Linked DNA regions of Homo sapiens: regions 2, 3 and 4 are each linked to region 1. Evidence: promoter capture Hi-C in 16 types of primary human blood cells and fetal thymus (Javierre and others, 2016). All regions are on one chromosome and are shown on one strand. The core of a region is centred on a gene start or on the middle of the fragment in contact, and the rest is flanking DNA. Distances in the headings are between cores, read along the strand shown. Region 1 holds the start of GNRH1 (gonadotropin releasing hormone 1). Region 2 overlaps DOCK5 (dedicator of cytokinesis 5). Region 3 overlaps DOCK5 (dedicator of cytokinesis 5). Region 4 overlaps DOCK5 (dedicator of cytokinesis 5).

Evidence for each region. The method cuts DNA at HindIII sites, captures the fragments that hold promoters and counts their contacts. A CHiCAGO score of 5 or more calls a contact.
Region 2: a contact is called between a fragment that was not itself captured here and the fragment with the promoter of GNRH1 in region 1, in 1 of 17 cell types (neutrophils). The highest score is 7.8, in neutrophils.
Region 3: a contact is called between a fragment that was not itself captured here and the fragment with the promoter of GNRH1 in region 1, in 1 of 17 cell types (neutrophils). The highest score is 6.7, in neutrophils.
Region 4: a fragment that was not itself captured here is called in contact with the fragment with the promoter of GNRH1 in region 1 in 1 of 17 cell types (neutrophils); the score reaches 6.1 in neutrophils.

What each region holds. Positions count from the first base shown.
Region 1 is chr8:25,419,994-25,427,272 of GRCh38, forward strand. It overlaps GNRH1 (gonadotropin releasing hormone 1), which reads right to left and starts at 4,268. Exons shown (of 4, transcript NM_001083111.2): 1 at 4,208-4,268; 2 at 3,197-3,338; 3 at 1,580-1,675. The coding sequence starts at 3,337. The HindIII fragment of the contact is 12,746 bases long and covers 1-5,393 here.
Region 2 is chr8:25,200,023-25,207,301 of GRCh38, forward strand. All of the region lies in intron 1 of DOCK5 (dedicator of cytokinesis 5), which reads left to right. Among named protein-coding and RNA genes, the nearest start is that of DOCK5, 19 kb to the left of the region's middle. The HindIII fragment of the contact is 3,415 bases long and covers 2,647-6,061 here.
Region 3 is chr8:25,246,154-25,253,432 of GRCh38, forward strand. All of the region lies in intron 2 of DOCK5 (dedicator of cytokinesis 5), which reads left to right. Among named protein-coding and RNA genes, the nearest start is that of DOCK5, 65 kb to the left of the region's middle. The HindIII fragment of the contact is 5,525 bases long and covers 653-6,177 here.
Region 4 is chr8:25,271,758-25,279,036 of GRCh38, forward strand. DOCK5 (dedicator of cytokinesis 5) reads left to right here. Exons shown (of 52, transcript NM_024940.8): 4 at 3,629-3,684; 5 at 6,812-6,908. It also overlaps the pseudogene LOC124901864. Among named protein-coding and RNA genes, the nearest start is that of MIR6876, 70 kb to the right of the region's middle. The HindIII fragment of the contact is 2,243 bases long and covers 2,693-4,935 here.

The DNA.
Region 1 (7,279 bases), core at 3,018-5,517:
AAGTGAAAAAAAAGTCTGGTCAATTACTTTGCTATTAAACCAGCCTTTGCTTCAATTTCTTCATAATGTCATGTTTGACAAATTTCACTGCTTGCCATTTTTGTAATGCAGTAAGCAAGATTAGAAAAAGAAAGGAAATAGGCTGGGCGTGGTGGCTCATGCCTGTAATCCCAGCACTTTGGGAGGCCGAGGTGGGCGGATCACAAGGTTAAGGGATTGAGACCATCCTGGCCAACATGGTGAAACCCCATCTCTACTAAAAATACAAAAATTAGTCCAGTGTGGTGGCTCATGCCTGTAATCTCAGCTACTCGGGAGGCTGAGTCAGGAGAATCGCTTGAACCCAGGAGATGGAGGTTGCATTGAGCCGAGATTGCGCCACTGCACTCCAAAAAAAACGAAAAAGGAAATAACGACGTCTGCCCACTTTTTTCTTTGTTCTGTGGGTATATTAAGTTGAAGTCACTGTAGACAATTAAAATTACAGCTTATTTTTATATATGATTTATTTGGGCTTTCCCAGCTCCTAGGCATAACTGATCATTAACTGTAATGCCTTCTGATTGCTGCAGATAAGTGGACAATAGAGATCAGAGAATATCAACATTGAATCCAAGATTCAACTTAAGTCAGGCACAGTGGCTTGCACCTTTAATCCCAGCACTTTGGGAGGATCTTGAGGCTGGGAGTTTGAGACCAGCCTGGGCAACATAGACCCTGTCTCTACAAAAAATTAAAAAATAAAATCAGCTGGGTGTGGTGGCAAGTGCTTATAGTCCCAGCTACTAGAGAGGCTAATCTAGTCTCCAGAATTGCTTGAGCCTGGGAGGTTGAGGCTGTGGTGAGCATTGATTGCACCATTGCACTCTAGCCCGGGGAACAGAGCAAGATCCTGTCTCAACAAATAATTTTTTTAAAAGATTCAATTTATACATTCAATTCTCTTTATACTTTTTCATCAAAAACCTAATATGATTAGTGTATTTCCATTTTGGGGGGCGGAATTTGGAGGTGATTATTGTCCTATCAGGAAACTGGAAATCAAGTCCATCACTCTCTAAATTATAAATTTAGTAGTTTGGCATTTTTCATTCCAAAGAAGAGAAAAAAAAACCCATCTACAGCAGTGTTTCTCATGTCTCTATTCCCCAAGGTTCTGGAAAACCATGTAAGATAAAGCACAGTTGCAGGATCAGGTGGAGGGCTGTGGAGTAGCCTGGAGTGGAGTAGTCTAGGGGGTTTGGTGATTTTACTTGAAGAAATGAAATGCAGCAGTGGGAAGAAATTTGTTTTGTTAGTTATCCCAAAAGCTAGAACCAGGATTAAGAGATAAAAGTTACAGAGAGATTTCAATTCAACTTCAGAAAAAACAAACAAACAAAAAAACGTTTCAGCCCCTAGTGCTGTCTAACCACCAACTGGGATTGTCATGAAACACGGTCCTACCACAGGAGGTAACAGAGGAGTCAGGAATGTAAGCCCCACAGTATCTGGGAGGTAGCTGTCCTAAGTGATCCCCAAAGGCTTATCCACCTCTAGAGCTCTATGCTGTGATCATGTTATGATCACTTTAACTTACCAGAGCTCCTTTCAGGTCTCGGAGGGGAGAACGTGGCTGGTGCGTGGTGCATTCGAAGCGTTGGGTTTCTGCCAGTTGACCAACCTCTTTGACTATCTGAAGAAAGAGAATGTGATGCTTTGAGATGGAGATAAAGAAATGAAATGGTGTTTTCCATTTCCACCAAAAAATTGTGGAGAGTGGGGTCAAGGGGGATGTGGGGCTGGGGGAGATTGGGAAAGTTGCAGGATTAGCATAGGGACTTTAAGGACACAGATCTGCCATCTGACATTTCTACTGAATGGCATGGGGATCTGGAGATAATGGAGACAGTAAGAAGATATCATATTTTCCCCTTAAAGATGAAAAGAGGGAGGCACTTTGAGCCTCATGAGAGTCAGTATACCCAAAAAAACAAAAAGCAAAAAACCCCCAAGAGTTTATAGTTGTAAAAAAAGGTTGGTTTTTATTTTCTAGGTTTTACTAAATATGTTATAGTTCAATGAGATTTGCTTCATGTATAACCTGCAGAGAAGAGGCTTCAGATTCTGGGTCTTCTTTAATACTAAATTATCTTTATTATTTCTCAGAAAAGAGATAATTCCTTCCAATGATAATGAAATGATTTAAAATTTTTCCCATTCTCAGTCCTAGGTTATTTTTCAGGTTAATCAGCTAACATAGATGGCTTCTTTCCTTACATGACCCTGATGAGTGGTCATATTTTATAAACAAAAATCCTCCCGGCACTTTGGGAGGCCAAGGTGGGAGGATCCCTTGAGCCCAGGAGTTTGAGACCAGCCTGGGCAACATAGGGAAACCCCATCTCTATAAAAAGTTTTAAAAATTAGTTGGGTGTGATAGTGCATGCCTGTGGTCCCAGCTATGCAGACGGCTGAGGTGGGAGGATCACTTGAGCCCAAGAAGTCAAGGCTGCAGTGAGCTGTGATCGTGCCACTAAATTCCAGCCTAGATAACACAGCGAGACCCTGTCTTAGAAAATAACCCCAAAAAACAAGAAAGCAAGTACCTCACGTTAGTGTTGGTGCCAGTCCTATAATCTAATCTATATGAATTTAAATCAGCATGTTTTCTACTACGTTATCTTATCATCTTGAGTTTGCTAATTCCTGTATTCTACCAGTCTCCAACTTTGCTTAAATGCCCCTATCAGTGAAAAGAAATTATAGGGCATGCATCCTTGATAAGGATACTCATTTATAAATTATAAAAATGTACTGATCTAATAGCATAGATATGTTTAAAAGATGAAATGAGGAAAAAAAAAACGAAGTTCTAACGTTTTTTCCAAATCCCAAAGAATCATCTTCTGATACAGACCTTGACCCTATCCCATTGTTTCTAATTCCTTTAGCAATCCCATACACTCAGAGTATGACGTGCTGTCTCACACTTGTTGCTATTAATATATTCTTTTGGAATTTTTCCAGCTCTTTGTTTAGTCCCTGTGTGAACTGAAAGTAGGAATGGGACTTCTACTTTGTAAGTGCCTTATCTCACCTGGAGCATCTAGGGTACAACATCATAGAATATTGACATTGGGGCTATCCTGAATGTTTAATATAGTTAAATTGAATAAAATCACTATGTCTTATTTTGAAGCTGAGAGAAACTTACCTCTTGGAAAGAATCAATCAAATTTTCGGCATCTCTCTTTCCTCCAGGGCGCAGTCCATAGGACCAGTGCTGGCTGGAGCAGCCTTCCACGCACCAAGTCAGTAGAATAAGGCCAGCTAGGAGTTTTTGAATTGGCTTCATTCTAAGGCACATGAATGCACAATCAAATTAGATCCAGACAAGGTTGAGTATAAACTAAAAGACCTCTTTAGTGAAAAAGCTAGCATCTGTATCACTAACCCTGCAGAAGATGGAAGTCAGAGTCAGTTTTTACATACAGACACTGAAACTCAGAGACACTTGCTGGCTTGCCTTTAGTTTCTTAGCCACTGGGGACAAAATGAGTACTTAAGCTCACATGTTCAGGACCTTTTTAGTACTAAAATAGTCTATACTTTTATTTTTATTGTTTGGTTATCCAAACCCCATAATTCATCCCTTATCAAGTTCATCATTTTGCCTTAACATTTCCCCTGTTGTGGATTGGTCTTCAACTCTTTCATTCCTGAGATAAAGAGAACTGAGTCATCTGTTAAGAAAAGTAGCTCCTACTAGGAATCTCTGGCTAATATAAAATTGCTTGACATTACATGGCTACCCCATGGTACTAATGACATTTTTCTATTTATCCTTCAGTCTTCCTAGCATTACTGCTGGCTGAACCATCTGTGGGAGAGAGGACTCAACACTGTTCAAAGTAGTTAGTCCCAGACCAGATGCCTTCCTAGCCAAGGGGGCCTCTAATTTTCTAATGAAATGTGTCTCCAAGTTAATTTTCATTTGATGGGAAAGAGGCTAAAAACTAAATCAAACACTGGTCGATAAGCTGTGGGAGTCCCCAAAGCCTGGATCTCTGTGGCTGGTGATGGCAAGGACAGTGAAGGACAGGACATCATTAGATACCGTCACACCTGGATTTAGCCCTTGGGCTGTCAAATGCCCTGTAGACATACAATAGCATGCAATCTAAAGAAGAAAAACTCGTGCTAGAAATAATACAAAGCCTTTTACCTGTTTAGAGGCAGAGAGCCAAAAAGATCCCAATCTTCCCTTGAAGTAGGTTGAGTACTGTGACTTTTCTGTTTTCCTATCTTCCTTTTTATAGGGAATTTTTCCAGGACATTGAAATCTTTCCTGCTGGTAAATTATACTGCAAATGGACTATGCTTTTTTTTTTTTAATGGTAATTTTTAAAAATCCTCACATAAAGCCCTTTAATGGTGTATGTAATTGGAACACCCCCTGGTATATCTGTTAGATTTACTTAAGTGCAGCCATTAAAACCTCAGCTAAAACTTTTATAGCTGAGGACACAATTCAAAGAGATTAAAATCCAGCTAGATTGGATTCCCTTGAGGAAACCAGCAGACCTATCAAGAGTTCAAGGAAAATAGATGTCTTAGATTAAGTGAAGTCAAATGCATACATAACTTCCACAAAGGAGGCTATACAACAAATATAGGACATTGAGTCAGGATGTCTGGGAGCTTCTGGCTCTTGGATTCTTCATTTGTAAAAGGAAGGGTGTAGACTAGATGGACTAGATGATCACAGAGTTGCTTCCAATTTTAAAAATCTGATTTACAAGTAAGTGACACTATATACCAAGTCCATGTAGGATCCTAAATCAGACAGTTGTGTGTTTGAAAATTCCCTCATCTACCCACCAGGTTCCCTGCTTGACTTACCTTGAAAGCCTTCTAAAGCATCAAAAAGGCAAGAAACATATTCTGAGAGCAAGACCATATTGAGCAGACTTACATCAACAGATCAACTCATTTCAGTAGATGCTTATTGAGTTAAATATGCAAATCACTCTTAAGGGCAGTGGGAACAGAAAGATGAGAAATTATAGTTATTTAATAAATAGCAAATGTATAAGAGCATTCATTACAATAGCCATGCAAAGTGGGTATCATTATCTAAATTTTATAGATGTTCCACCCCAGAGGTGCAACCGTGGACGTGTTATTTACACAGGACAAGCATGTAAAATACACACACAACCATTACTCTTAATTACATTTATTTGAATACATGGTTGTCTTCCCCTAATTTACCCCTAGGCTGAAACCTGTAATAGTCAAAGATCCCATCTTATTTAAATCTCTCTTAATAAACCCCCGGCATTTAGTGAGCATTCAGTAAGTATAGGTTTGAATGAATGAATGAACGAATGAATGAATAGAAAGCAAAAAGCTTTTAACCAGGTAAGGCCTAATGCTGCCTCTATTTCTGCATCAAAGATATGCTTTATCTGACACAGAATTAAACTTTCATGTATAATTGGCTGTAAATCCTGTTATATTAGCTAAGCTGTAAGATGGCTAAAAAAAATAACTGGATATTTGTTCATTTTACAGCTGGGAATGGCAATTTCCCCTCATGTAGGATGCTAAACCCATCAGTCATTGCACAGTCTCCTCTGGAATAACTACATTTGCAGGGATTTCAGAGTAAAGAGAAATGGTGTCTTACCTAAGTAAATTCCCTTGCTTTGTCCAGCCATCTCTGTGGAGGCTGTCCAGTCCTCATGATAGGATAGAGAAGGGAGTACACTTTAAAGTATAACTGCAAATAGAGGAGAATTTAAAAATAAAATGTAAGTATTTGACTTTGTTCCATTTAAATTATTTCATTTAGACACTTTGACTCATGTAAGTGCCATTCTGACATGAAGAGTGGAATCTCATCTCACTACAATATGCAAGTAGGGACAGACTGTTTTTCAACCAGAGTTCATTATGGTTGAATAGTGCTAGTTTAAATTGTCCAATTGGTTTGTGTTTGCTGAGAGATGTGCCTCTAAGTATTGCTTAAGTAGAAAATGTGGTCTCTGGATAGGACTAATGAAATGAGAGTTAAGACTTGTGATGCATATTGTCAGGTGAATCACTTATCTCTGGGTAGGTAGGCCTCACTGGATTTCTTGTAGGTTATTTCTAACAGTTGGGATTAAATTTTTGAAAAATGTTTTGAAATTATTAAGATGAACACAGCAATATTGTATTACTCAGCATTCTCTAGAGGGACAGAATACATACACACACACACACACACACAAACACACGCACATAGGAGAGTTTATTAAGTATTAACTCACACGATCCCAAGGTCCCACAGTAGGCCGTCCGCAAGCTGAGGAGCAAGGAAAGCCAGTCTGAGTCCCAAAGCTGAAGAACTTTGAGTCCAATGTTCGAGGGCAGGAAGCATCCAGCACAGGAGAAGGATGTAGGCTGGGAGGTTAGGCCCATCTAGACTTTTCACGTTTTTCTGCCTGCTTTATATTTGCTGGCAGCTGATTAGATGGTGCCCACCCAGATTAAGGGTGGGTCTGCCTTCCCCAGCCCACTGACTCAAATGTTAATCTCCTTTGGCGACACCTTTATAGACACACCCAGGATCAATACTTTGCATGCTTTGATCCAATCAAATTGATATTCAGTATTAACCATCACAAATATGGTCTATGAATTCATCCAATATGCTGTTGTCCTTAAAGTCTCCATTAGCATTGTCTTAGGTCACACAGATCTCAAGGCAAGAGTCAACTTTGTTTTGTCTTACTTTCTATAGCACCAAATAGGTTATCAAGCCACTATGCAATTAATGAGTTTTTGATATTGAATGACAAACTTAAAACCATTTAAGGATTCCATGGTTAGGTCAGTTTATCAAAAAGTTAAATATAATAAATTGGGTTTAAATAATTGGATTTTATATTTGTCATATTTTTTTCTAAATTTGAAAGAATGGCTTTAGAGAAAAAACTGCTTCATCAACATCAAAACACCTCAAAATTATTACAGCGATGATCTCATAATATCACTGAAATGACAGATGAAAAAAATCTTTTCTTGCCCTAATGTAAAATCTCAGCAGGAAGCACTTAAGGTTAACTCCTGCTGACATGTCTAATCAGGTTGTAAAAGGGTTTCAGAGAATTAATCCTTGGATAAGGTGCTTTATACTGAAATAATGTAACCACTTTTCTTTGTAGTAATGAACCTTTTAATTTTAAAGGTAATTCTTCCTTGGGGACTTACTTAGTGCAATTCTAAGTTTTTTCCATATATTAAAGAT
Region 2 (7,279 bases), core at 3,104-5,603, 220 kb before region 1:
TATATACTTTCAATCAGTGGATACTGGAAGCATTGTTATACATTTGATGTCTTTTATAAAAGAATCCTAAGGGCCAAAAATGTTGGGAACTTTGGAGTAACTGAAATGGCAATGTGCTGTATCTTATCATAATACTTTGGAGTTCATTGTGACTTGAAAATTCCAATTAAAGTTGGTATAACCTCTATCATGTATTGATTAAAAATGCACATACCCTTTGACTTAGCAACTCCGTTTCTCTGAGTTTATCTTACAAATATACTCCACATGTGGGGAATAATACATGGACAAGGTTATTCATTATAGCATTATTTATACCAAAAACATGGAAACTCTCAAGTGTTGGCTAATTGGGGATGGATTTAGTAATTTATAGCACATGCATACAATGGAAAACTATATAGCCATTAAAAAGATTCTGACGCAGTGATAGATAAAGTGTTGACAAAGGTGAGAGTGGCATGTAGTGGTTGAAGGATGATCTTTTCAAAAAATGATACTGAGTCGTTTGTTTATCTATACTGAACAAAATGTATCAGGACCCCTACCTAATACCACATAAAAAATTGATTCCAGCTGTATGAAAGATAAAACAGTGGAAGCTCTTAGAAGAAAACATAAGAGCACATTTTTGTTACCTTAGAATAGACCATCTGTAATTTAATACATTTTGCTTTCTGCCATTCAGTTAGTTACTTATGACCATCTCTTTGTTAATCAACAAAAACCAAATCCAATATTTTACTTCAATAAAGGGCAAAATAAAACATGCCTGTGCTGGTCTCATCTCTTTATAATCCTACTTTTTAAAACTTGTATAATTACATCTTATTAATTGTAGTGTTAATTTGTTGGTTGTTTAAGGATCTAAATGGCTATTTCTTCTTCTTCTTTTTTTGTTTGAGATGGAGTCTTGCTTTGTCACTTAGGCTGGAGTGCAGTGGTGCAATCTCGGCTCACTGCAACCTCCGCCTCCTGGGTTCAAACAATTCTTCTGCCTCAGCCTCCTGAGTAGCTGGGATTACAGGTGCATGCCACCATGCCCGGCTAATTTTTGAATTTTTAGTAGAGACAGGGTTTCACCATTTTGGTCAGGCTGGTCTCAAACTCCTGACCTCAGGTGATCCGCCCACCTCGGCCTCCCAAAATGCTGGGATTACAGGCGTGAGCCACTGTGGCCGGCCTAAATGGCTATTTCATGGTGAATAAACCATTAGCCTCAGGCTTCGTCTCCTCTCTCTGTTTGAAGACAATAAAGTATGATGTAATTGTATTATTTTGATAAGGTAATATTTAGTCCCATGACATACAAAACACTAGTAGCATTACATAAAACAAAGTATTTCAATAGTGAAAGAGAACATTTATATACAATTATTTCTATAGTCTAACAGTATCACTAACATTACATGCCTTTTAAAAAATATGTTTGAGTTACTGAAGAAGATTGAGATACAGATGTTGACTTGTTTAGGGCAACAGGTTAAGCTAACTTTAGAACGCTGATTACTACCTTTAGTCCTGCAGGCTGTGGAGCCGGGCAGCCAAGCCATGCTTGAAATCAGAATCGTCAAGGTGGATGCAAGAGCCATTGGCTGCAGAGTGAGGTTTTGGAGAGTAGTTGCTTGTGGCTGGGATTTTTGAAGTCCAAGTCTCCTAACTTTTATTACTCTTTACCTTGTGAAGTCATATAAGGCTCTAAGTCAAGTAAGACGGAAGGAATAAGATTAGCACACTTCCTGGTACAGTGGGCAGTACGTGATAGCTATCTGAAAGTTTGCTCAGTCGCAGCCTCCCTGACAGTACCCTAGCCTGGCAATCAGGTGCCTTTGTTTGCAGAGTGGGGCTGATTACCAAGTAGTTAATACTGGTTGGCTCAGAACCTGTCCTCAAAGTTCAGAATAGATTTGAGTATATTTTTGATTTTAGAGCCTTATGGCCAGAAATGGCCTTATCTTGCAAGAATCTTCCTGGGAAAAAAACATATATATATATATTTTTTTCTTCTCTTTGAGACAGAGTCTCGCTCTGTCACCCAGGCTGGAGCGCAGTGGCACAATCGTGGCTCACTGCAATCTCTGCCTCCCGGGTTCACGCGATTCTCCTGCCTCAGCCTCCCCAAGTAGCTGTGACTACAGGCATGCACCACCACCCCCAGCTAATTTTTGTATTTTTAGAAGAGATAGGGTTTTGCCATGTTGGCCAGGCTGGTCTCGAACTCCTGTCCTCAAGCGATCCACCTGCCTCGGCCTCCCAAACTGTTGGCATTACAGGTGTGAGCCACCGCACCCACCCCTGGAAAATATTTGAATTCCCAGGGATCTCTGGGTGATGGGACTGTTACTTTCTTCTGATCCTGTGCTTTTGGGGTGGTACTCACTCACTGGCTTAGAACAGCCTGGAATCCTAAGAGGAATGGATGAATGAATGAATTCACACACAACAAACTAACGGAAATGTTTTGAGTCACGCCACCTTGCGTGTGAATCCCCTTACTGTGGCTAACCCACCTCACTGTTCTGAGGAAGCCCATGTTCACTGAGCACCTTTTATGTTCCAGGGTCTTGCTGGGCTGGATGGTGGTGAGGATCACACAGTAGTCCCGCCTTATCCTCAAGGCATGCTTGAAACCACGGATAGTACCCAAGCTTGTATATACAATGCTGCTTCTATACAAATATATTTATGATAAAGCTGAATTTCTAAATTAGGCACAGTAAGAGGTTATCAACAATAACTAATAATAAAAAAGAACAATCAACACAATATGCCAGTATTACCACTCTTGCACTTTGGGGCCATGATTAAGTAAAATAAGGGTGACTTGAACACCAGCACTGCAATACCCCGGCAGTTTGTTTTTGAATTTTTTTATTTAATATTTTTGGACCTTGAGTACCTGAAGCCACAGAAGGTGACACAGGGGACACTAGGAGACTACTGTGTAAGATAAAGAGTCTATAGAAACACACATAGAAGCAGTAGGCAGGGATTCATAATGGCTGCTTTCCTTTTCTTTAGCTTGATAAGAGTGCTACCAAATACATCTCCAGTGTCATGAATTCATGGATGTGTGACCAGTAGCTCTTGGCCAGCCATTTCTGGTCTTAACACCCAGATCATCATAGAATATGAGGATAGGAATCCACTGATGACAGAATCCTGAATGACTATCTTATGTGCCTGAAAGCCTGCCTCAAAGAAGGCTGATGTCTTCTTGAATTAAAGAGTTGCTTGCATATAGAATATACTGGAGTCATTTTTCAGAAGATCCTTACATGGCTTGGCAGAGGGTGGCATCCAGTTTATCTTTGGCGGAATTAGATTTGCTGCTCAAGATTGTTTTCAAATTGTTTGATAGCTTCAGGGAGGTCCACTGGTAAGCTCACAAATTCAGAAATAGTTTGAGGCTACAGAAGAATTCTTTTCATGTTTGAGCTGTGATCTAAGCCAAGAGCCTTGGAAATTTTGAATCCGTCTTATATTTTCTTTCCTGAATGAGAAATGGGTATACTTGCTCAGTTCCGATTCTGACAACATGACTTATTTCAAAAACAAATAGCTCACTCCGTGAAGCAAACCCTGTATCACTCTCCTCTGGTGACATTTCGATTCTGATACAATGTGGTGGCATGGGGATAGATTTTAGACCAGGAAAAGAGAGAGCCTCTCATTTGTGGCCCAAAAGACTCAATTTTAAAGATCAGATTGGAATCTGTCAGGGAGGACATATGGACATAGTGATTTTTTCTTTTATTTGCCTTTTTTCGCCTCTCTTTACTTTTGGTTTAATGTCTTTTAGGACTTGAGGTACAAAATCCCATGTTGTGGAGGCATTAGCTAACAGTTGTAAAACCTTAGGAAAAGTACAGCATCTCAGTGATCCTGCCTTCCTAAAATTGCTCCTCAACAAATACAGATGGAGGAAATAGAAATATCTAAAATGAAACGTGTTCTTTCGTCTTAGATGTCTTTATCTTCTTGCTTTTATCAGCAGCCTTGAGTGACAGGATTTTATACTTTTGGAAGATTAGAGGGTTTGTTTGTTTTTCTTGCAGAAATAGTTACTTATACCATGTTCATTTATCTGCCTCAGTTCTGAGAATTCTTTGCCAATTTTTTTAATAGCATGTGTTTGGATGAATTATAGACTTCATAGAAGTAACTTCAGGAATTATCGACTTCATAGTCGATACAACATAATGAGACCCTGTCTGTACTTTAACTTTTTAATACAAGAAATTTTTTAAAATTTTAGGGGCATTTAGGTTTTTGGGGGATAGTGCATGGAGTGAAACTAACAGAAGTATTGATCCCAGGATTAGGAAGTTGGGTTTGTATTTCAGTCTCTGTTACAGGAGTGACCAAGTGGCTTGACTCTCTTTAGCTTAGTTTTTCCATCTGCAAAACAGAGATAATATTTTCTATTACCTTCTAGATTCTCAGAGTGTGATGAATTTTCAGTTGTTGAAAATTTCTGCAAATGAATTAAGCGATGCCTGTTAGGCCACATTAATGGACTAAAAACTGCTAGGATCTAAAGTTGACATGCCATTGAACTTTCTGCCTGAAGACTTACTGAGGAAACTTTGTCTACAAAGGTTTGGTGCAAAGAACCCCATTACTTTATGGCCAAATTTTCTTCACATGCCGATGGTAATCCAGTAGTCTTTCTTCTAACTTCTTGGCGGCTTTCATATACTCTTCAGACTGGCTAAGTCATACGTTAATAGGAAGAACTAATTTTCTCTCCCTGAGGCTGAACTTGTGATCTTTTTCATCTGGTTTCCACTTCTCAGATTTCCCCAAATCTCTCAGTCGTCTTTCCCAAAGTATTTAAAGGAAGATTGATTTTAACAGAGTGCTATGGACTGAATTATGTCCCTCACAAATTCCTATGTTGAAGCCTCAGCCCCTAGTGTGATGGTATTTGGAGATGGGTCCTGGGAGATAATTAGGTTTAGATGAGTTCATGGTGGGGCCCTCATGAGGGGATTAGTGCTTTTTTTAAAAAAAATTATTTTTAAAAATGTCTTTTATTAAAAAGTTAATTAAAGTACAGACAGGGTCTCATTATGTTGGCCAGGTTGGTCTTGAACTCCTGGCCTCAAGCAATCCTCCCACCTCAGCCTCCCAAAATGCTTGGATTACAGGTGTCAGCCCCTGTGCCTGGTCTCTTCTTTTATGTGGAGAGCGCTCTCCCTCTCTCTCGCTCTTGCTGTCTCTCACTCTCTCTCCCTCTGTCTCTCTCTTTCTGTCTTTCTCTTTCTCTCTCTATGCTATGTGAGGATACAATGAGAGGGTGGCCACCTATAAGCCGGGAAGAGAGCCCTCACCGGAAACTGACCATGATGGTAACTTGATCTTGGACTTCCAGCCCCCAGAGCTGTTAGAAAACACATTTCTGTTATTTAAGCCACATGGTGTGTGGTATTTTGTTATGGCAGCCTAAGCTGACTGAGACACAGGGAGTTGCGTGTTATTTGAAATACGAGTCCACTGTTGCCAGATCAAAGTTCAATCTCTGTAGTTTAATCCTAGATTTTTCCCTCCTCTTTTACAGGGATTTGAATCTAGTGAAAGTAATTCACATGCACATCAGATACATGCCTTTAGCAGCCTTCTGGCCTTGAAAATCCTGCTGTTGCTGATTCAGTTGTCAGGGCCCAAATCAGCTGGTGAACTCATGAGTTTGCAGGTCTAGAATTGTAGGTGTGGGAAGGGGAGAGAGACATGGGTTACTGAAGACTTGTGCAAATAAATGCTGTGTTCATCTTCACCGATTCACCAGGTATCTGAGTAGGAGGTATGCACTTAGCACTTGGAATACTCAGAGATAATGCCATTGCACACTTAATTGATACTTCTCCTAACACTTAAGAGAAGTGGACATAGATTCTGTTTGTGGGAAGTTTATAATGAATTAAAAGACCCCAAGTATAAAGCCATAAATAACTCCAGGGAAAGGAAGGCTGAACATGAAAAAAGTTGCAAAAAAAGTCCAGTTGGGGTTATTGGAGTTTAGAGAAGCAGAGATTATTCTAATTGAGGGAGTTGAGGAAGCTTCAGGGAAGTAGTTGAACTTTATAGAGATGGACATCAGGTTTGGGAAGGCTGGGGACCTGGCACAGCGTGAGCCCTGGCCCTAACGCAGTTATTTGTGGCAAGTGGATAATGAGGAAGTTGTCCATTCTTGCTGAAGCAAAGGGTGGGTAAAGTGGAAAAGAGGGAAATGATATAGATTTTGTCAGATTATGGGGAGACTTGTTTACCTTGATTTTTTTTCTTCCTCTTTAACCATTCATGCTGCAATAGTGTGCTGGTAAACTAGCTCTGTAGAGTGGGAGGAAAAAACTTGAGTTTGTAGCATTCACCAATATCTGTGGTGTAAATACTCCCACAGTGGCCAATTTCAGACCAGCAGTGGATTAAGAGATAGCTCACAGAATTCCTGAAAATTCCTGAAAATGTAACAGTTGGCCCTTCCAAACTAGTACAAGTTTGCTCCAGTATTCTGTGAAAAACCTGGGCTAGTTCCTACATGACAAATAGTTACAGTACCTGCCTGCCCACAGCCTGGATAGAAGACCCAGGGAAGGCCTAGGTAGCCTCGTTTTACACCATCTAAGATTCCTGTGGCCATCACTGATTGTCCCTGGATGGACACACTACCTAGAGGCCATTCCGTAGCCTGGACAATGACATATGGTTTGACGCAAAGAAGTAAGTACTCAATCAGGTTCCTTCTCTTGGGAATTTGAATGAGGAAATACCAATATGTTTTGCCACAGGGGCAAAAGCTAAAAGGATGTCGTTTGGGAGTTGAGTTGGTGGCAACCTGAAGCCATGTGGAAGCCAATGTTGTGAATGGAAACCACAAGGAAACTGAAAAAGCTGATTGATAGAGAGAGGGGAGCAGATGTGGAGAGACCCTACAGCCCTAGAGTGGCCCCTGTTCTTAGCAGCTTTCCAAGTCCAGGTCTAAAACATCCCTTTTCTGAGGCAATTTGAGTGAGTCTCTGTTCCTTGCAATACCGTGGCATCACTGAAGAAGTTTATGTGGCAACTCAGGGTACTTTGCAGAGCTTTCTATGAATGCAGACATACCTCCTTCTATATAGCACATCACTTTATTGATCGACCATAAGATTCATGGTCGATCAATAAAGCAATGGTTCATGAAGTTTGATGAAAGAAGTTTAATAAAAGAAGCCATTGCCATAGCATAGAAGTGCAAGGTGAGGCAGCAAGTGCTGATATAGAAGCTGTGGCAAGTTAT
Region 3 (7,279 bases), core at 2,165-4,664, 170 kb before region 1:
GCAGCCAACTCACTGGCAAGTCCCAGGGCTTCAATTTTTGTCCTCCTGGCTCCACAAGGCCATCAGAAATGCTGCTCAGCTTCTCAGCCACTCAGGAATCCTTTCTTTTTGTTGTTGTTGTTGTTTTTTGTATTTTTTGGAGACAGAGTCTTGCTCTGTCGCCCAGGTGGAGTGCAGTGGCTCAATCTTGGCTCACTGTGATCTCCGTCTCCCGAGTTCAAGCGAGTCTCCTACCTCAGCCTCCTGAGTAGTTGGGATTACAGACACCCGCCGCCATGCCTGGCTAATTTTTGTATTTTTAGTAGAGACAGGGTTTCCCCATGTTGGCCAGGCTGGTCTCGTGGCCAACTCCTGACCTCAGGTGATCCGCCCACCTTGGCCTCCCAGTGTTGGGATTACAGGTGTAAGCCACCGCACCTGGTCAGGAATTCTTTCTTAAATCAGCAGATGGATGCCCCAAGCGGAAAGCAGCCCCAGATGCTGAGCTGGTCTTTTTAGGTTTTGGTCTCTTTCAGATTTTGACCTGGTAATTCTTCACTGCCATGTTAGTTTGTGTGTGTGTGTGTGTGTGTGTGTGTGTGTGTGTGTGTGTGTGTGTGTGTGGCGGGGGCGGGGTGGGGCAGTGTATATGTTTGTGTGTGTTGTTTTGTCAAGCTTTTCTAATTGTCCTACAGAGTGTGGGAGGGAAGAATGGAGACTTGGTCTGAAATAAAGTAGGTAATGTCTTTTGTTTTTTGTTTTTTTTTTCTTTGAGACAGGGCCTTGCTCTGTCACCCTAGCTGGAGTACAGTAGTGTGATCATAACTCACTGCAGCCTTGAGCTCCTGGGCTCAAGCTATCCTCTTGCCTCAGCCTCCCAAGTAGCTGGGATTATAGGCATGTGCCACCACACCCAGCTAATTTATTTATTTATTTTAATGGACACAAGGTCTCACCAAGTTGCTCAGGCTGATCCCAAACTCCTGGCCTCAAATGATCCTCCTGCCTCAGCCTTCCAAAGTGTTGGGATTGTAGGCATAAGCCATAGCACCTGGCCCAGGTGATACCTTTAAAATATTTCTTCAAATTTTTTTTCATTTTTATGTGACCTCAGCGTATTTCTAAGAAATAGTTAATTGAAACACTTTGTCCTGTTAGGGTTCATATCAATAGTAATTTTAAGGATGAGTGTGGTGGCTCACTCCTGTAATCCCAGCACTTTGGTAGGCTGAGATGGGAGGATCCCTTGAGGCCTAGAGTTCAAGACCAGCCTGGGCAACATAGTGAGACCTTGTCTCTACAAAAAATTTAAAACTTAGCCAAGCATGGTGACATGCACCTGTAGTCTCAGCTACTTGGGAGGCTAAGGTGGGAGGATTGCTTGAGCCTGGGAGGCAGAGGCTGCAGTGAGCTGACTACACCACTACACTCCAGCCTGGGCAACAGAGTGAGTCCCTGTCTCAAAAAGAAAAAAAAAAGTAATTTTAAGTGTCTCACTATACTTTACCAAGAGTTCTCCAGTTGGCCTATAAACATTCCTCAAGACAGCATCCCTATGGACCAAGCTAAGGGGGTCACTGAGCTTAGTTGAATATAAATATAATCACAGATACATTCATTTCAAATACCATGCACTTGAGTCCAAACAGTCCAAAACCCACAGTGCTTCTAGTATATTACAGCTCACACTACGATATGCTTGTAGGATGTGCTGGCCCATTTGACAGTCACACAAAAATGGTTAACTTCTTCAGTTATGGTGATCCGGATGCTGTAGTCCTGCCCGCAAGAAACCGCTCTTCTTAACTGCTACCATAACATTTTTGCTGCGTCAGCCGTAGAACTTTTTCATCTCAAAGGACGTCAGTGCCTGTTCTTTAAAAGTAAGCGCATGTCAAGGCGTGAAGGGGAGGGAGGTTGAGAACACTTGAGCCTGCACCGTGAGCTTACTGAGTTCATTAACCACCAAGGGGCAGGTCAGCTTGACAGAGAGATTACTATATTGGATTATATTTTTCATTAGTGTTTATTTTCTGGGATTAATTTTTAAAATCGTGCCTACCTTGCCAGATGTCCCATGATAGGTCCTTGTATCTGCTAAGCACTTAGAGTTCTTGGCTTGATTCTCAAATTCCTTTATTATTTAAGGCAGCTCGAGGCAAGGGCCGGAGTGCTTTGCAAACATGAAACGCGATGGGAATGCTGAGTAATCACTTGTCTTCTACCCCTCTTCTCCTAGTCCCTCTTAACTTTAGAAAAATAAACACAATGAAAACACCGACAGTCCTGCCGGGTGGAACTGAAGGGTGACACTGGCACTGTATTGTGGCCCTGGGATTCGTGTCTTCCAGCTTCCTGTCGGAGCTGACTTTGGGGCGCTCCCTCTGCACTCTGCCCCACCCTGCCCTCGAGATGTCTGCATACCAGATCTGTGTGTGTTTTTCCAGCGTGGACATGAATCCACCCAGACATGAAACATTTTTTCTGCCCACCGCCCGGGACAGAATACTATTTTTGATTCTCCTTTTTCTGTTTCCTGCCGTGTGGTTGGCTGAAAAATTTCAGAAAGTATTGGCTCCTTGAAGGCAAAGCCTGTTCCTCCTTCATCTGCAGAGCCTGTGCCTCCCTAGCTCCTGGTATACGGCAGGTGCTCAGCAACAATCTATTGAATGATGAAGGTAAAATAGGAGACCAAGGCAAGCTGGTGTAGAGAGTAAGGGGGTCAGGGGTCACCTCCACAAAACCCTGGGTATTACAAGGCAGAGGTGCTGTTCCTTCTCTATGAGGGAAATACAGGGGGTGCTAATGTTTTTTGGTCCTCTGCAATTATAGGAGGATTTAGTCATTGCTGAAGTTTTTGTTTTTATTTTATTTATCTTTTTTTTAGAGACAGGGTCTTGCTGTCCCCCAGGCTGGAATGCAGTGGCATAATAACAGCTCACTGTAACCTTGGCCTTTTGGACTCAACGGATGCTCCTGCTTCAGCCTCTTGAGTAGTTGAGACTACTGGTACATGCCACCATGCCTAGCTAATGTTTTTAATTTTTTAGGAGAGGTGAAGCCTTGCTGTGTTGCCCTAGCTGGTCTGGAACTCCCGGCCCTTAGCGATCCTTCCACCTCGGCCTCCCAGAGTATAGGGATTACAGGTGTGAGCCATCGTGCCTGGCCTTGTGGGTTTTTTTGTTTGTTTTTAATAACAGCTTTCTTGAGATATAATTCAAATACCAATCAATTTACTTATTTAAAGTATACAATTCAATGGATATTTACTAATGCAGAGGGTTGGGCAAATATCATCACTATCTACTTTCAGAACACTTTCATCATCCCATAAAGAAGCTCTGTACCCATCGGTAGTCATGCCTCCCCTGGCTCTAGGCAGCTTCAAATTCATTTCATGTAAGTGGAATCACATAATATGTGGTCTTTTGTGACTGGCTGCCTTCATTTGGCATCAGGACTTCATCTCTCTCGCCCTCTCTCTTGCTCTGTTGGTCAGGCTGGAGTGCAGTGGCATGATCACGGCTCACTGCAGCCTTGACCTCCTGGGCTCAAGGAATCCTCCTACTCCAGCCTCCCAGGTAGCTGGGACTATAGGTGCACACCGCTACACCCAGCTAAATTTTTATTCTTTGTAGAGACAGGGTCTCGCTATGTTACTGAGGTTGGTCTTGAAATCCTGGGCTCAGGCAGTTCTCCTGCCTTGGCCTCCCAAGGGCCAAGTGTCCCAGTGTGTTGGGATTATAGGCATGAGCCACTGCACCTGGCCCAACTTCATCTCTTTTCATTGCTGAGTAATATGTATTATGTAGGTACATTATATTTTATTCATTCATCAGTTGGACATTTGGGTCGTTTAGATGTTTCAGCTACTGTGAATAATACTGCTGCAAACATTTGCGTGCAAGTTTTTATGTGGACATATGTTTTCATCTCTCTTGGGTAGGTACCTAGGAGTGGAATTGCTGGGTCATAGGGTAACTCAATGTTTAATATTTTGAGGAACTGCCAGACTGATTGAGCTTTGGCTCCAAAACAGGCGACCAGAGTCCAGATGAACGAGCTTCTATCCATCATCTTTTTTCACTCATTTGACTCTCTGGCCTTGCCCCTGAACTTCATTTGTTGCTAAATGAAGGAAAGAAGCAGAACTGACTGAGAAGCTATCTACTGCTCATCCGTTACAGGTCTCCAGGAATTATTTGTCTTTAGAGACTTTATCAGGAAACAGAATTCCTTAAGGACTGAAGCGAGCGTTCTTGCCTTTCTTCATCTTTGGCACTGGCTTGCCCACAGTCATTTTTGTGTCTTTGCTTCTTTTACTGTGGAATGTATTTGGCAGCGAGGTAGCTGTTTATTACTGTGAACGTTCCTTTCCACCCCAGATCCATGGCAGAAAGTGCACTGACTTCTGGAGATGCCCGGCCGTGAGGTCATTTATTCATTCAACATTATTTGCTGAGCACCAAGTATGTGCCAAGTACATTTATTGAGCATGAGAGATGTTCTGGGTACTCTGTGGTCTCTTAAGTGACAAAATGCAAGTTCCTGCTCTCATAGGGTTTACATTGGAGGGATAGACAAAACCAAGTAAACAAAGTAAGTAAACAAAACAATTCAGATATGTGCTTACAAATGCTATGGGGAGAAGAGGGTGGTATTGCAGAGGCCAGAGGTGGAGGACAGCGATGGAGAGGGAGACGGAAGACTATTGTAGGTTGGTAGTTTTGTCCTTGTCTAGATTGACTGTCCCTGGGCAAGATATTGCAGCTGTCTTTGTGACAAGGACATTTCATCTAAATTGGAGTCACTTTTTGAGTCAAGAGTGATCAAATGTAAGTGCTTTGAAAAGTGCATAGTACCTTGTATGTGTCAGGTTTCAGCATCCTGTTACCATGGAGCTCCCCTCTCCTGTGATTAACGTCACTCCAGTCACAAGTGGTTTTAGGCCTGGAGTCTGAGGTTCCTCTAGTGCTGGTTTCCTGTGTTTAATTCATATCCATCGATTAACTCTTTTTCTGCTCCGTAAACCACTCACAAGCTCACGAGAAAGGGCGGCTGGTATGCTGGTGTTAGCAGTGATTTCTGGGGTAAATACAACACAATTGACCGCTGTTGGAACAAACACAACGAAATGTCTCAAAGGTGAGCTGAACTGTACAGAGGCAGGCACAGCACATATTATTTCAGGGCAATTTGTAAAGACTCGAAGGATAGCACAAATGCTTGGACTGGAACCAGAGGAAACAGGCAAACCTGAAAAGTTAAAAGAAACAAAAAGAAGGGTTTGTATACGTACAGGAGTTCCCCAGAATACCCATGTTATTTCTTCTATATAGAAGAAGTCTAGTTTTTGAATGCACTTTAATCAAAAAATCTACTTCCCTCTAATATGAAAAGGAATAAAAATGTATTAAGACTTGAGCTGTATGTGTTTTGAATCTCATTTTTATAAAGCAGGCCTTTGTGAGTAGGGACAGTGGGCAGTGTTATGACAGGTAAGTTACATGGCAATGAATTTTGTCTGCATGTTTGCCAAAACTTTCTAACAGAGATATAAAAAAGAAGAGAGTGGGCTGGGTGCGGTAGCTCATGCCTGCAATCCCAGTACTTTAGGAGGCTGAGGCGGGCAGATCACATGAGGCCAGGAGTTTGAGACCAGTCTGGCCAACATGGCAAAACCCTGTCTCTACTAAAGATACAAAAATTAGCCGGGCATGGTGGTGTGCACCCATAATCCCAGCTACTTAGGAGACTGAGGCACAAGAATCGCTTGAACCCGGGAGGCAGAGGTTGCAGTGAGCTGAGATCACGCGTGCCATTGCACTCCAACCTGGGTGACACAGCAAGACTCTATCTCAAAAAAAAAAAAAAAAGAGTGCTTTTAAAAGATTTTTTTCAAACAGAGGCTTAATCATCATCCTTTAGAGATGTGGTAATAGGAACCCTGCATTGGATTATGATACAGTATGGTATCTAACGTTTTGAGAATGTCTGTCTGATTGTCACATTCTGTTATGCTCTATGACAATTAATTCTGTAACACTGAAATCTCTTTATTGTTCCTCCTTTCTACTTGTTTCTTTCTCTACTTGGTCATCCATGCACAGTGGTCAGAAGCCAAGAGAGAGACAAAAGATTCAAAATTGCTGTTAAAAATCAGTTCTTAATAGAATGTGTAAAAGTTTACTGGATATAAGCTTCAATAGGGGTGTCCAAGGTATTTGTAACTTCCGTTTACTTTTGTTACCCGCTAATTAAAATAATTGAAAGTTTATTGTAATTCAAAATCTATATAGTCTCCACGATCTAGGTATAGAAATACTGCCTTTCTCATACATAAATGGCAGTGAGCCTAACAGCTTGGATTTTATGACGCTGCGTGCAAATATTTTGGCATTAGCCTGGAAAGCAGATAAGGCCATGTGGCATTTTGTTGAGTGTGCTTGGTCACTTCCCACATCTGTTTGACCTTTACCTTAAGTACAGCTTGTGAGCTACTACTGCTGGTGACATATGTTCCTGAGATGTGTTTTTCAAAAGATATGTGTGGCAGTAGGAGGGTGTTTACCAGAGAAATTAATTAAAAGGAGTGTCAGTGAAAAGTCTTATCTCGGATTTAATCTTTAAAAAAAGCGAATGCCTTCTATTTTTCCTTTTCAGGTATGTTTCAGTATGCTTCTAAAATTCTAAAATTCCATCTTTATTTATTTTTTTGAGACAGAGTGTTACCCTGTCTCCCAGGCTGGAGTGCAGTGGTGCAATCTTGGCTCACTACAACCTCTGCCTGCTGGGTTCAAGTGATTTTCATGCCTCAGCCTCCCGAGTAGCTGGGATTACAGGCACGTGCCACCACGCCCAGCTAATTTTTAGTAGAGACGTGGTTTTGCCATGTTGGCTAGGCTGGCCTCAAACTCCTGGCCTCATGTGATCTGCCCACCTTGGCCTCCCAAAGTGCTGGGATTGCAGGTATGAACCACCAACCCTAAAATTCCATCTTTAAAAATGTACGTGATTCAGGTATAGGCATATATGGAATTTTCTACTGTAGAGTTCACAACTGTTTCCTGAGTGGTACCTTCATTCAGTTATTCTGTCATGAGTAAGTACTTGGAATTACCTATTTGGGCAGCTCCTATGCACCTAAGGAGGCAAACTCAGTCTGAAAGCAAATATGCTTTTGGGAGTACTCTGGAGGAATATTCCCAGGAGCTTTTAGCATTCCACAGATTTTGGACCGCAACAGATCTTGGTTGGATCAAGTGGTTGAAATGGGAGCAGAGTCCTTCCATCCCATGCA
Region 4 (7,279 bases), core at 2,564-5,063, 150 kb before region 1:
CAATGAGGAAGGAGAAGCAGAACTGAGAGACAGGCTGTAAATCAGAAACACATGACCTAGGTTTACTCTGACTTTCTGTGTGTCATCATGGCATAGGAGTCATTCTATAAGCATCAGATTTGCCAGAGCAATTCTATGACTGTAAATGGCCAAGTGTCATCATGGAAAGGTGAAGCCTACTGATGACAAATACACACATACTATGTAACAAATACACACATACTGTATAACAAATACATGCTATATAACTAATACATACATACATATATACATACATACATACATATTTGAGACAGGATCTCAGTCTGTTGCCCAGGCTGGAGTACAGTGGCGTGATCACAGTTCACTGCAGCCTTGACCTTCTGGGCTCAAGCAATCCTCCTGCCTCAGCCTCCCGTGTAGCTGGGACCATTGGCATGTGCCACCATGCTGTGCTAATTTTTTAAATTTTTGTAGAGACGGTGTCTCAGTTTGTTGCCCAGGCTGGTCTTGAACTTCTGGGCTCAAGCGATCCTCTTGTCTTGGCTTCCTAAAGTGCTGGGATTACAAGCATGATCCACTGTGCCTTGCCTCAAATATTCTCCTAATATGAAAATCATCATGTCTGAACATCCAGTGTAAATTGTCTGCTTATGATCTGCTTAGATGTCACAAGATTCATCACTCTGCATTTATGTTTCTGAATACTTCTATCTTGAATGTTTTCCACTTATTAGGAGCGACTAGTCACCAGATTGTGAATGCATGAAAATTTTAATTGGTCCTTTACCTTCTGATTTCAAAAACCTTCAGCAGGGATGTTCCTTTGTAGTAGCAGTGTTACATTTTACTTTTGACTTCCAGAATTGGATCCTTGTAACTAAACAGTTTATCCGTGCCCAGCGCCTCCGCAACCCCACTCCTGCTTTTTTATGAGTTTTGGACTTTTTTTATTGTGGTAAAAATATATATAACATAAAATTTACCATCTTAACCATTTGTAAGTGTACTTTCCAGTGGCACTAAGTACATTCTCATTGTTGTGCAACCATCAACACCATCCATCTCCAGAAGTCTTTCATCTTTCCAAACTAAAATTCTGTCCCCTTTAGATACTAACTTCCTATTGTTCCCTATCCCCCGCAAGCCCCTCAGAACCCCCATTGTACTTTCTGTCTTTATGAATTTGACTACTCCAGGTGTAAGTGGAGCCGTACAGTATTTGTCCTTTTGTGACTGGCTTATTTCACTTAGTGTAATGTCTTCAAGGTTAGTTCCCAACATCCCAGTTTAGTTCCCCACAGAGATGATAGTCAGCAAATCATTTGCCGTGGCGCAGTGGCACAGTGGCACAGCGGCACAGCAGGCAGAAGAAACACCCAGAGTTCCTTAGGCCTCCTAGGGACAGGCCTAGAGCTTCCGAACTGCAGAAATCAGGCCCCAGAGGAATCACACGCAGTTTTTGAACTGAACACCCTCCTTTCTCATTGCTATATTCATCAGATGTTTACTCAGTGCCTGCTGCATGCCTGGCACTGCAAAGGACAGTTCCCTGTTTTGATCATTAAAAAAATTAAATAGACCAGGCACATGGCTCATACCTGTAATCCCAGCACTTTGGGAGGCTGAGGTGAGCTGATCACTTGAGGTTAAGAGTTGAAGACCAGCCTGGCCTGGCCAATATGGTGAAATCCTGTCTCTACTAAAAATACAAAAATTAGCCGGGCATGGTGGTGCATACCTGTAATCCCAGCTACTTGGGATGCTGAGGCAGGAGAACTGCTTGAGCCCGGAGGGCGGAGGTTGCAGTGAGCCGAAATTGTGCGACTGTACTCCAGTCTGGGCAACAGAGCAAGACTCTGTCTCAAAGAATGAATAAATGAATGAACGCATGAATGAATAAATAGTCAGAAGACTTATCTCCTTCTTTTTCACTTCGATGGTGTGCCTATGCGTGTATGTTTTATACTGATAGAATTCCATGGCCAAACTCACCTGACCTGAGGGGTGGCGCATTGAGAAAGTGTCCTGTCTACTGTGCCCCACAGTAGACACACATTTAATTTTTGTTTTCAATTATTTGATCAGTTTTCCAAAATGGTTCTGAATCCCACCTCCATAATGAAAGAGGTCATTGTCACCTTGTGTCTGTGTGTGTTCTTGGTCTCATCAGTAACGGGATTAGAATTCACACTCATATTCCCCACGCCTGCCCCCGTCTCAAAGCGAGGAGGAGAAGGGATGTACTTTTTATTTGGGGCTTTGTGTCTGGTGGGGAAGCACATGCAGGATCCACTCTGTCATCACCAATGCTAGGGGCAGTTTAATCTCAAATGTTCTTGCTGTTTCCTGTTTTATTGGCAACGGATTAAAAGAGAGAAAGCAGAGTGTTGTACAGACAAATATAGCACATGCAACTGGACACAAGAACAACCCTGTCAATGTTCACTGGTTTCCTGTCTGAGTGGAGTAAGGATCAGTGGGTATATATGCCTCCGGGCACTGGGACATCCCCTCCCACCTTTATGATCAGCCACCCCTGACATGTCATGTTCATGGAGTTCACACCAACTCTTCCAGGAATAGGGCTGGGAGCAGTTAGCCAACAGTGCCAGGTATAAGCTCCATGTAAGATACCATGAAACAGATCAGCATCACTGTCTCCGGATGACATCTCCTCTGTGTGTGAGCATATCACACAGTAAACAGCAGAAGCTTTGGTACACATAACACTCACATCTGGGACTTGCTTCCTGTTGGTTAGATCTGGTCCTCTGTTCTCTGATTTCTATCCACCAGTTTCTCCTCTTTCTCTTAGGTCTTTCCAGGCCTAAGTCTTCCCCATGGGCAGTGTTACAATACTGATGTAGAACTGCCTCTTAGGGATATAGAATGGAGAGCAGTTTGACACTGTGAGGTGCTGAAAATAACCAGGTAACTAACACCCGTTGATTTTGAGTGCATTTGGTTTAAGTGGGAGTGCTGAGAGGAACTACTTTAGAAAAATCACTATGTAGTTGACCCGTGAAAAATATGAGTTTGAACTCTGCAGCACTTCCACATGGATTTTTTTTTTTTAGCCAAATGCAAATCAAAATTACAATATTCTTGGGACATGAAACCTGTGTAAAAGTATATGCGGGTTGTGCAGGGCTGCGTGCCATACTTGAGTATGTGTGGATTTGGGTATATGCTTTGTGGGAAGGAGGTTTCTGGAACCAACCCCTTGCATATTCTGAGGGATGACTTATTTTATGGGCTACTGAGTACTGCATAGTTTCCATGTCACCCCTTATGTGAAACTTATGGGAAGCATCTCATGGCAAGTAGCATCTGAGGGGTTTAGGAGTTCACAATTACACTCCTTCCCATTATGTTATCTCTGAGCTGACACAGCATGTTTGCCTCTTCATTCACAAAATATCCTATGCTCTCTGAACCCAAATTTTAATTTCTACCTTTTTGATGTTTCCACCATGCTTTTGTGGAGGTAGCCAGTCAACGTAAGTGGTGTCCTGCCAACCTGATCTCAGGAGTTTAGCTATTGCCTGGGTGTTCCCATTTATTCTCTTTACTTTGGGCTGAGGTGTTTTTGTTTGGTTTTTGTTTTGTTTTTATGGCCATATAACCAAAATTCTTTTCTCTGTAGGGCATTTTCCCTGAAACATATATCCATTTGAAAGAGGCAACTGTGGAAGACCTGGGGTAAGTTCCAAGCTAGGAAGATTCCCCAAAAATGATGAAGATGTAACATTATCATTAATGATAATCTTTAGGCATTAATGCCTTATGTACGTTAATAGTTCTCTCATCTCAGGCCAGGCGTGGTGGCTCACGCCTGTAATCCCAGCACTTTGGGAGACCGAGGTGGGCAGATCATTTGAGGTCAGGAGTTCGAAACCAGCCTGGCCAACATGGTAAAACCCCCATCTCTACTAAAAATACAAAAGTTAGCTGGGCTTGGTGGTGGGTGCCTGTAATCCCAGCTACTGGGGAGGCTGAGGCAGGAGAATCACTCGAGCCCAGGAGGCAGAGCTCGCAGTGAGCTGAGATCATACCACTACACTCTAACCTGGGTGACAGAGCAAGACTCTCTCTCAAAAAAAAATAAAATTAAAAAATTTCTCTCATCTCATCAGTTCTACTTCTCCTATGAGAGAGAAATGAAGAAAAACTTTTCACTCATACAATTCCTTCCTCTGTCTTCTCTTTCTATAATTGTTCCTCCTTTCCATTACTTCTCCAGAATACTAAACACAGAAGTAGCAAAAACTGAGGGCTTTTGCCTCTACATTACATTTATTATCTGTTCACTGATTGTGTGTGTGTGCGTGTGTGTATGTTTGCACACATGAACATTTGGGACTCTGACTGATAAGATCTGAGAAGCCCCCAATTCAGGATCCTTGAGAGAGAGATGATTAAGCAACAGCCTGCATTTACCAGCTCTGAGCCTTGGATGAATCACTTAAACTTAAGTGGATCCTGGGTTTTTCACAGCATATTAGGGGAAACAATCTGACCCTACTTTGATCATGAGCTTGTCATGAGATTCGAATGAGGTAATGTATGCAAATGTGCCCTGAAGATAAGATCTGCTATATTTTGGGTATTCATATTTCTTGCCCACCTCATCTTGCCCACCTCATTTGTCCTGGGAAGTACTGCCTCTGTGACAGCTAAGAAGAGTGAGCTACTTAGTCTAAGTGGGAGAGAGAGAGGTGACTTAGGTGATGGTGAGTCTCTGGACAGGAGAATTCTGGAGGCAGTACGGAGAGGCTGGGGTAGGACTGGAATCCTGGGGCTGATGGAGAGGAGAGTGGGGCCGAGGAGAGAGTGGACAGCTGGGTCACAGAACCATGCAGCCTCACAGCTAGAAAGAGCATTCCCAGTTGTAGTTCAGCACCATCATTTCTTTTCTTTTGTTTTCTTTTCTTTTTTTAATTATGATGGGCAAGCTTTATTTTGTATGAACTTGATTTCACAAAATTAGAATGGCAATTCCACTTAAAATTAACTGTTTAAAAAGTGTAAATGTCACGGTATAGATCTGTTATCCAAAACTCCAAAAGGCAGTGAAATTGGTAACAGATATTCCTCCTCATCTTTGGACCCATACAACAGCAGAATTGATGAAACTGGTTCCCAGGCAAGTATGTGCCACTTGCTCCCGTGCCTCAGGGAGGAGAGGATGTTATGACACAGGCGTTTTTGTTGCAGTGACTTGTGGATAATTGCTCCTTATTAACACTGCTAAAATTATGTTCACATGTTTTACTTTGTGTGGGAGCCGATGACTCTTGTCCTTTCGTTTTTTGAGTATTATCTTTCAAATGAGCGTTGGCCTCAAACCCGCTCATTCCAAAATGCATCACAGATGGGAATTTAAGCCTCTTCACAAAGCAAACCACTGGAAATTCATAGGTAGTATGCAACATTGGTCTGTAACTGATAATAGGGCAACATCATTTCTTTGGAACGTAATTTTCTTGATTCCACAAGAAGTGACAGGATAAGAAAACTCATAGTTAAATGAGAACAGTCTTGTTACAGGACAGTTATCTCCCAGGTGTATGTCATCAATTCTAATTTCCGTGTTGTTACCAAAGGGCCTTATTTTCATTCTGACTAACAACCAATCATCAGAACACATTGAAACTGTTGCTGGGTCAAGTTCAAAAGGATTCCAAAACAGTAAAAAAAAAGAGGAAGGGCCCACCAAGAGCACAGAGGTCTTCATCGCTCCAGACTCCCAGATACAGCACAGGGAACAAGAAATGGCAGAACCATCATTTCATAGACAAGTGGTCAAGATGTCCTCAAAGCCGTACAGCTCTTTGGTGGCAGAACCAGGACCAAAAACCAGGTCTCCTGCCCTGCTGGAGAAGTCCTCTTTCCGGTGGGCCGTGGGCTGCCTCCACTGCCACCCACCATGTTGGAGGAAACGTAGGTGGGGAGGCACATTCACACCAATTAGGGTTATACAGGATGCCCAGTTACATTGGCAATTCAAATAGTAAGTAATTTTTCATAGTAAGCATTTCCCAGATATTTCATGGGTCACACTTATTCTAAAAAATCTTACTATACCAGAAATTCAAACTTAACTAGGTCTCCTATATTTTTCCTCATTGAGCCTGGCAGTCCTACCACCAGTTCCAATTTGTTTGCTTGCTCTTGCTTTCTCCTTTTTTCTTTTTGCTAATCATAAAAATGCCAGAGAGGATTTCTGTGAATAAATGTAGTACCTACCTTTATGAGAGTCTTCTGTGAGTAAGCAAGGATTTTGTTAAGTGTACGTTTTCTGTGTTGTGAAACTGCAGATGAGAAGAAAACATGGGACTATTCCAGAAAGGGGTGCTGCCTCCGTATCCCCCACCTCTACCCTGGCCTCTGCCCCAACCAGGTCCTGGGTGGAGTCACAGCCCCAGGACACTCGTGCCACACACACCTTTCCATCCAGCCTCCCAAATGAAACAGCTGCTTGGTGGAACCAGCTAAAATGCTGCATATTTTGCTTCCATCTTTGAGAATCACTGAAGCCAGCCTGGCTCAGTAATCGAGTCTCCTGGAGAAATCTACACTGGGGAGGTCGAGGCTGGGCCGCAGGCTCATTCAGTTGCAGGAACGGAGCCCATTTTGAGGACTGTGCTGCCTTACTCTCCTTCTCTTCTCCCAGATGCTTGGATGCGATAAAGTCCCCTGCACAACTCCTGCCCCCAGGCCTAACCAGCTTCATTCTCAACCTTGAACGTTGGGAAGTCTGATCCCCATCAAGTAAAGCAGTGCTGATCAGCCTAGAAGAAAGTGACCCTCGTTTGGTTCTTTGTAGGCAGCATGAAACCGTGATTCCTGGCGAGCTCCCCCTGGTGCAGGAGCTCACGTCCACTCTGCGAGAATGGGCTGTCATCTGGCGAAAGCTCTACGTGGTGAGTTTCCCCTTGTGGCTTGGAGCCCCAGGGTCACTCTGGGTCCTCAGCCTGTAGGTCCTTTGCAGGGTGTTGGCCCCTTATTGCTGACTTCATGGAGTGGGATGCATTCTCCCTGGATCACACAAAGGCTGATAAGCAGCAGATTCTCATTTCCCCAGAGCTGGGTCACTGATAGCGGGTAGTGGAGTAACTGGGCGTAATCATTCTAGCAGTCTTTTCTCAAATGATAAACATGCTGATTGTGAAAGTACTAATGATAATAATCACTGCAAACACTTCTGCAGTCTTTCCTAAGTGCCAGAAACTATGAATCCTCACAACATTCCTATAAAGTAGGTGCAATTATTATTAATTTGTTAATAAGGAAC